2 separate regions of the Homo sapiens genome follow, and region 2 is linked to region 1. Evidence: promoter capture Hi-C in human tissues and cell types (Jung and others, 2019). All regions are on one chromosome and are shown on one strand. Each heading gives the region's core, a stretch centred on a gene start or on the middle of the fragment in contact. The rest is flanking DNA. Distances are from core to core; before and after follow the strand shown. Region 1 holds the start of KRT10 (keratin 10). Region 2 holds the start of KRT34 (keratin 34).

The links. Contacts are between HindIII fragments. The study calls those that stand out against the background at their distance.
Region 2: a contact is called between the fragment with the promoter of KRT34 here and the fragment with the promoter of KRT10 in region 1, in 2 of the 25 tissues and cell types used here (bladder and mesendoderm cells).

The regions. Positions count from the first base shown.
Region 1 is chr17:40,820,482-40,824,738 of GRCh38, forward strand. It overlaps KRT10 (keratin 10), which reads right to left and starts at 2,133. Exons shown (of 8, transcript NM_000421.5): 1 at 1,478-2,133; 2 at 554-636; 3 at 30-186. The coding sequence starts at 2,104. The region is part of intron 1 of KRT10-AS1 (KRT10 antisense RNA 1); the gene reads left to right. RefSeq lists an enhancer at 1-373. The HindIII fragment of the contact is 10,916 bases long and covers 1-4,257 here.
Region 2 is chr17:41,380,224-41,384,480 of GRCh38, forward strand. It overlaps KRT34 (keratin 34), which reads right to left and starts at 2,083. Exons shown (of 7, transcript NM_001386014.1): 1 at 1,676-2,083; 2 at 1,490-1,572; 3 at 833-989. The coding sequence starts at 2,023. RefSeq lists an enhancer at 1,076-2,275. The HindIII fragment of the contact is 11,267 bases long and covers 1-4,257 here.

The sequences.
Region 1 (4,257 bases), core at 883-3,382:
GGCTGGGAAAAGTATAACTTTTGTGTCACCTCCTCGTGGTTCTTCTTCAGATAGGCCAGCTCTTCAGTCAGGCTCTCAATTTGCATCTCCAGGTCAGCCTTGGTCAGGGTCAGCTCATCCAGCACCCTACGCAGGCCGTTGATGTCAGCCTCCACGCTCTGGCGCAGAGCTACCTCATTCTCATACCTGAAACAAGCATGATATCAATACTGGTTATAACTTATATAGGGGAGATGTATCTGGGCAGAGACTATTTAAAAAGCAGCTACATAGTTGATCTCATGTAATGGCAATATTTGTCATGTACAGTTCTCTTAGAAGTAATAGTGGTTTAATGGAAAAAACCTTAGCAGTTACTTTAAAATGCATTTTCTTCCTTTAATATTGCCAAAAAGGTAACACTGACATGGAAAATTTCTCAGATAACTCCAATACTATTTAACTTTGGGTGAATTCAGAAAAATGTAAATGTTATTGAGGGCATCCCAAGTCATTGTTAAAAACCACTGATGTATTCGTTGTGATAGTATTATACAACGATCACTTAACTTACTTCAGCCTGAAGTCATCAGCTGCCAGCCTGGCATTGTCGATCTGAAGCAGGATGTTGGCATTATCAGTTGTTAGGTTGAGAATCTGGAGGGAGAGGCACAGTTATTTGAGAAGAGGTCAGATGCAGATATGGCTTTTGTAGTGACATAGATGCACTCTGCACTTTTATGTTGTTCTCTTACAAAATCTTGGGAAAATTTTTTATTTTAAATATGAAATATTGCAGGCTTACCCATATACTTAACTTTGAATTATTTGTTCTCTTGGAATTTCTCCAGTCTTGTATTTCTGTACACGAATTATTCCTTTCTGAAAACTAACTGGAATTATATAGATGTATTCCTGTAAGTGTGCCCTCCTCTTTTAGACTATGTGATTTCCATGTATTTCAGCCATGCTTTGGCTGACTCACACCTGCATTTGTTTAACTCATGATAAATACTAATAAATAAATACACTCTGAACTGGTACACAATAGGTACAATTCAGAAATTCCTTAGAGGCAAGCAGTGTCCCATTTTCATACTGGAAAATTTATTTTTCTTGCCATGTTGGTACTGAATATGGCTTGTTATCAGTCTGAATAACATTTTGTTCTGATTCATATCATGATTTTTTTTTTCAGTTTCTACATTTGTAAATAGCCTAGCATATTTTAACTGTGGACTCATTGTATGCTCATTAAAACCTCAAAAGTGCTTAGTAAATCTCCCATCCTCTTAAGACAAGTAGCACACTTGCTGGATGAAGATTGCCATGACCATAGTTTCACAGATGTTTATCTTTGATGAGACTGGGTTATTTTTGAAGGAAGAAAGTAACATGGGTAAGCATAGTGAACAGCCACATTGTGCTTAATTTAAGATTCATCTGTCTGGATTACATGGACAAGATACTTAAAGCTGGATTTAAAAATACCTCTTACCTGATTTTTAAGGTCATCGATGGTTTTGTAGTATTTGCTGTAGTCACGAGGCTCCCCCTGATGTGAGTTGCCATGCTTTTCATACCACTCCTTGATTTTGCCTTCCAGCTCATAGTTTGATTCTTCCAGAGCCCGAACTTTGTCCAAGTAGGAAGCCAGGCGGTCATTCAGATTCTGCATGGTTACTTTTTCATTTCCAGAGAGAAGGCCACCATCTCCTCCAAATCCACCACCAAAGCCTCCTCCAAAGCCGCCTCCACCAAAGCCGCCTCCACCAAAGCTGCCCCCACCAAAGCTGCCACCTCCGAAACTGCCCCCTCCAAAGATGCCTCCATAACTCCCACCAAAGCTGCTACTTCCATAGCTTCCACGAAAGCTACCTCCACCAAAACCTCCTAATCCTCCATAGCCACCTGATGAGCCCCCAAAGCAGCCCCCACCAGAGCTCCCACGGCTAAAAGAGCCACCACTGAACCCCCCTGAGCTAAATCCTCCACCAAGGGAGCCTTTGCTGCTAGAAATTCTTAGGGATGACACTCCTCCTCCTCCTCCACATCCTCCTCCTCCTCCTCCTCCTCCACTGCGGGAGGAAGAGTAGTGCTTGCTTGAGCTGTATCGAACAGACATGGTGATGCTGTTTAGCCCAGGGAGTGCCTGCTACCAAGGACAGTGACAAGCCTTTATATACTGAGAGGGTGTGTCCACATGTGTTAGAGTTTGCTTACTTACATTGTTTTCTTTTTGCCAACTTAGCATCTTTGGCTTATGATTGCATAAATTATCTTCAGTAATAACCAATCCTAATATGTACAATTTTGAATTTGCCCTAAGAATAAACAGGAGGTTTGCTATGTTGAAATTGAAAATGGGTGGAGTTCAGATGAGCATGTTTTATTATGCTTTTCACCTGTTGAAGAACATTGAGCAACCGTTAAGATCCATTTTTCTCAGCACTAATTCAGGTTGCATAGAATGTTTGCAAAGTTTAGAAAAAAAAGTTTCAGCTACAAAATTATAGTTAAAATAAGATTTTTCAAATTCATGTTTTAAACAGTTTTAATTGGAGCAACAAATAGCATAAAGTCTGGCAGGATCATGCTACAATAAGGTTCTTGTAGACAACTGTAGGGAATCAAAAAGAAAAAGTTTCTAAAAATTTAACTAGCATCAATAGTTGCCACACATAAAACATTAAAGCCATAAAACCACAATTTAGGAGATTGTGTTTGTAGGAGATCTTTTAATTTATTTGGCAAATGAGAGTATATTGATATTTTGCCTAAGAAAGTGGAAGTAATGATTTTAGAATTTTCTAATTAATGATGGCATTATTTTTAACATTAAAAAATCTGAAATCATAAAGTTATCCTGGATTATTTTGCACTTTTAAATTCATCATAGTTAAGGTTTCTGTGAAGACCATAATAATGCAGAAAATCTGCATTATTTTCTTAGCATGAAATCCGAAGAACTAACTTGTAGTACTTTACACTAAGTTCTGATTGAGTAAAAAGGGAAAATTTGGATATGTTATGATTGCAAGTAAAAATTTGCTTGCAAAAATGTAAATCTATATTAGAGAATGATACTTGCACCAAATATTATGAACTAGACTGTGCACATGTGTTCCCAAGCTAGGTTCAGTTTCTCAATAAAAACAACACATTTTCTTGGATATACTGTGTACAGAATTTGGTATAACAGTTTGTCTAGTGAAGTAAATTGGGATTTTGGTACATTGTATAAGATTATATCTACCCATAGGCTATGACATTGCTGTTGTTTGGATGTATATATTCATACATGTTTTACAATTATGTAGTGCTGTTTGTGATACTGTGCTTTAAAAATTTCTAGAACAAGCTGTTGAGATAGGAATGGTGGTTATTATTATTTCTTTTCTTTCTTTCTTTCTTTCTTTCTTTTTTTTTTTTTAGACGGAGGCTTGCTCTGTCGCCCAGGCTGGAGTGCAGTGGCGCCATCTCGGCTCACTGCAAGCTCCACCTCCCGGGTTCACGCCATTCTCCTGCCTCAGCCTCCCGAGTAGCTGGGGCTACAGGTGTGTGCCACCATACCTGGCTAATTTTTTGTCTTTTTGGTAGAGACAGGGTTTCATCATGTTAGCCAGGATGGTCTCAATCTCCTGACCTCTTGATCTGCCTGCCTTGGCCTCCCAAAGTGCTGGGGTTACAGGTGTGGTTATTGTTATTTCTAATTTATAGAAGAGGAAGTTGAAGTTGAGAGGTTGTGATTTTTTCCTGAAGATATGTAACAGGTGGTTGAACTGCAATTAGAAGCTTGGTCTTTTAACTCCTTGGTTCTTTTCCACTTTACCAATGTGTATATATATTATCTGCTCCAGTGGATTTGGTCTAATGGAGATGAATGACTCTAATTCTCACCGTAAACTTCTCCAAATGGGGAAAAAGAGCAAAACAAAAAGAACTTAGAATCATGAAAATATTCAAAGGGTAATGATTTGGCACACACTCTACCTTTAGTAATTGTTTTTTCAAATTAAGTTTATTGCTGCACATTTTGGTTTATGAAAACTACAGAAATAGTTTCTGTAGGGAAGGGAGTGTGGTTGGGAGCATTAATCAAATGTTGATTGTTAAAGTGGAGGTTACTACCCAGCAGATTGCAACTCTTCCAACTTGTTAGCACATGCAAATGGGGCAGTAGTTAAAAGAAAAACTGAAACCCAACCATGGGAATTGATTCTTGATGAAGATAACCTACAGTTAAAGAAGGCTATGATAAATCAGGATAGGAAAAGA
Region 2 (4,257 bases), core at 833-3,332, 560 kb after region 1:
ACTCCAGCCTGGTGACAGAGCATGACTCCGTCAAAAAAAAAAAAGCACTAAAAGGAAGATTCTGATCATTCCCAAAGAGTGACACACACATTTTATAGCAATAAACTCCAACAGGGATCACGTCAATTGTTGTCCCATAGAAACGGAAACAACCTCACACCTTCTACAAGACTAAGTCTAAACTCCTTGGCATATGCAAGTCCTTCCTCGCTTCCCATCACATCTTCACTTTCATCCCTTGGAGGTACTGCATGCCCAGCCATACCCAGATACACCCTGCCCTGCCACTTCTGTGTCTTTGTTCAACCTCTTCCCTCAGACTGAAACACCCAAGTACTGGAATCCTCCTCTTTGCATCTGAGAAGAGTTCCCTATCTCCTCTTGGGCAGCCTGGATTATTTCTAGAGCATACTGCTTGTACATCTCATATGGTACTTGTTTCACTCTGTCTTGTTTATATCACTGTGTTTATATGACTGTCTTTCTATACTAGACTGTGAGCTCTTTTAAGAAAAGGGCCATGTCTTATTTCTTTTTTGTCCCTCCATCTCCACCACCAAATTCAGGACCTAGCAGTGATCAGCAGAGAGCAGGGCTCAATGAATGATGTCCCTCCTCAGTAATTCCAACACCTGCCTAACCCTCACCCAGCCGCTGAAGAATGAGCAGCTCACTCCACTCCTTGATATGGATGTAGCACCGTCACTCTCTGAGAACATCTTGAGTTCCTCAGAGAAGGGTCCCAGACCAGGGATCCAGACAGTAATCCTCTCCTGATTCCCAGTGCTAGTAGCTTAGTTCTGAGGCCTGCTTTTGTGAATTTGTTTCATACCTCCTCATGGTTCTTCTTCAAGCAGATCAGCTCCTCCCTCAGGGACTCCACCTGGGACTCCAGGTCAGACTTGCAGAGGGTCAGCTCATCCAGGATCCTGCGTATGCTGTTGATGTCCGACTCCACCAACAGCCTCAGGGACTGCTCCGTCTGGTACCTGCACGTGTCGGAGTGGGAGGATAAGTCAGGAAAGAAAACCACCTTCCCCTCTCATGTGTTGTTTGGGTAGAATTGGCCTGAATCTTCTTGAACTTACAGTTTTCTGCCTCTTCTCTTCCATATGCTTCAGTCAAGCTGTCCATGGATAGGCTGAAGAGGTTCCCTGACTCACCTAACACCACGAGGAGCCCACAGGCACACATGAGATGAAGTCTCTCACTGTGTTCTCGGTTTTGTTAGCTAATATACCACCAAATCAATTCCCAAAGAACAATTCATTTCAATCTCTGAATTTTGTGGTTTAAGAAACACTTCCAAAAAAAACCAGTATAGACCAAAGAGCAGGCAGCACATGAGTCTAGTTCCCTATTTGAAACTAATTTTACATAACCAGCCCTAGGAGGAGAAATAGAGAGAAATGGCTTTCTCCTCTCTTCCAGGCAATAGTAGGTCCCTAGGGCCATGAAAGAACCATAGGGACCTTGAAGTTCAACATACTTGCTTCTGAAGTCGTCAGAGGCCAGCTTGGCATTGTCAATGTTCACCACCAGCCTGGCATTCTCAGCCTTGGCACACAGAATCTGAAAAGAAATTTCTCTCATGAGGTACACTTGAACTTGAAAATGTCTTACTGTTCAAAGAGAGCCAGCTGCTGCTGGCCCCCCATATGGCCAACCCCCTCACCTTCTGCTGGAGCTCCTCAATGGTCTTGAAGTAGGACTGGTAGCTGGGGCACAGCAAGGGCTCCTGCTGCTGGGACCGCTCCTGGATGAGTTTCTCCAGCTCCGCGTTGTCCCGCTCCAGCTGACGCACCTTCTCCAGGTAGCTGGCCAGGCGGTCGTTCAGGAACTGCATAGTCTCCTTCTCGCTGCCATTGAAGGAGCCCTCACAGAACCAGTTGCAGTTGCTCACATTGGCGGGGATGTTGCAGGCCCCAGGCAGGGTGTAGCCGTGGCAGCTGGGGGGCACGCAGGGCCGGGAGGAGCAGCTGGTGCGGCAGCCCAGGCTGGGCAGGCAACAACTGTAAGACATGGTGCTGGAACAGGTAATGGAAAAGCAGGTAAGCTGCTGGAGGTGGATGTGGGCAGGTTTGAGTCTCTCCTTCCTCTGCAGTCCTTTTATACCATTAATTGTGGGTGGGGGCTTGGCATACAGCATAGTTTCCTTTCCTAATGCTTCAGCTAATTTTTCTCCAAAATATGCTAGTTAGATGCTTCTAAAGAGTCCCCCCTCAACCCATAAAATTATTCCATTCAGCTTATGTCACACCAGGCTCTTCCTGGGTGCTAGTGGTTGGTGAAATCAGAGTTTCATCAGATGGCTTCATAGGAGATAGAATCATCACAGCCCCAAAAGGCTGTCTGCATTACTCAGAGGGGAGGACAGCCAGGGACATGGGGTGGAGTTGTTTGGGAATCAGGGATTCCTCACCCAGGAGTTTCCGCCACTGTTCTTTCTCCCCAGAGAGAGAGCTCTGAGAGAGAGCTTTGAGAGTTACTCTTCCAAGTAGCTCTTTCCTCCCACATTCATCCATGTTTCAGCATTCAATTTGTTTTTATAGCAGAAACTCAACCTGTATTCGCCGAAATGATCCTGAGCCTTACTATTCGTTGGGGTTTAGGGAACTTGCCAACACATGGAGCAACTGAAAACAATGGCATGTTCATGGTTGAGAAATGAGAAAGTAAAATGGAAACCAATGGAATGGATGGGAGTATACCTAAAAGAGGGCATCTGCAAATGGCAGCCCACACGTCAAGTTTACCCTGCTGAATTTTTGTAAATAAAGTTTTTGTTTGTTTGTTTTCTGTTTTTTTTTTTTTGAGACAGAGTCTCACTCTGTCGCCCAGGCTGGAGTGCAGTGGCACGATCTCGGCTCACTGCAACCTCCACCTCCCGGGTTCAAGCAATTATCTGCCTCAGCCCCCCGAGTAGCTGGGATTACAGGTGCCCGCCACCACACCCGGCTAATTTTTGTGTTTTTAGCAGAAATGGGGTTTCACCATGTTGGCCAGGCTGCTCTTGAACTCCTGAACTCGTGATCCGCCCGCCTCGGCCTCCCAAAGTGCTGGGATTACAGGCGTGAGCCAATGCGTCCGGCAGTAAATAAAGTTTTAATGGAACACAGCCATGCCCATTTGTTTAGCTATTGTATATGGCTGCTTTTGTGCTACAGTGGCAGAGTTGTGTAGTTGTGACAGAGACTATAGTGTCCACAAAGCCCTAAAATTAAAAAATTTGCCAACTTGTACTAAAGCAACAGCCTCTCTAAAGATGAGCAAGAGTAGAAATATCTAGAAGAAAAAATATGCTGGAAACAGTCTGGAGCAGTGAGAGTTCAGATGGCAGCACTGAAGCATGAATATGAAGCATAATACTGCAGACTCACCAAGAAACGAAAATTGGAGCAAGGGTGCTCAGAGGTATCTTTGTATCCATGGTGGCTTTTTCTCAAATTCTCTGGAAATTTCTATCATCTTATTTCTAGACTTGTTCCTCTTTCTAGAGTATTAACTCTCCTAGAGGTATGACTATGCCAGCCTGAGATGCTTCCAGGACAAGCCACAGTGCCCATGAGAATGCAGATTTACTCTGTTGTCCCTACAAGTAGACACTGTCTCTGATAAGTGTGCTTCTATCACCTCTGGGATCCAGTTACCCTTTGACTCTTGCATAACCTAGGGAGCCTCTCTATTGCCCAATAATCACTCTTCACAGAATAGCCTTCCCTACCTCACTTCTTTTCCCTGTCACTCTACCTTGCCTTTGTTCCGCAGGGAAACAAAGTCATGTTTCAGAAAGAAGTCCCAAAAGATTATTTGTGGAACACAATACAAATCATTTAAAGAAGGCTGCATCTGAATTTCAAAAGCAGCATGAGAGGAGCAGAAAAGCACATCTTCGATTTTATTTATTTGAGTGTTTCCTCTTTTTTTCTTAGTCTATCTAGAGGTTTGTAAATTTTCTGTGTCTTTCAAAAAAACTCTGTTTCATTGATTTTTTGCTATTGTTTTTCTAGTCTCTATTTTTATTTATTTCTGCTCTAAGTTTTATCGTAAGTATCATAATAAAATTTAGAGCAAAAAGTGTTATTATATCCTTCCTGCTGCTAACTTTGAGCTTAGTTTGTTCTTTATCTTTTTTAATTTTTTAATTTTTGTAGGTACATGGTAGGCGTGTGTGTATGTTTAGATATAGGTTTATGTATATACATATATAAAACTTTCCTCTTAGTACTGCTTTTGCTGCATCCCATAAATTTTGAT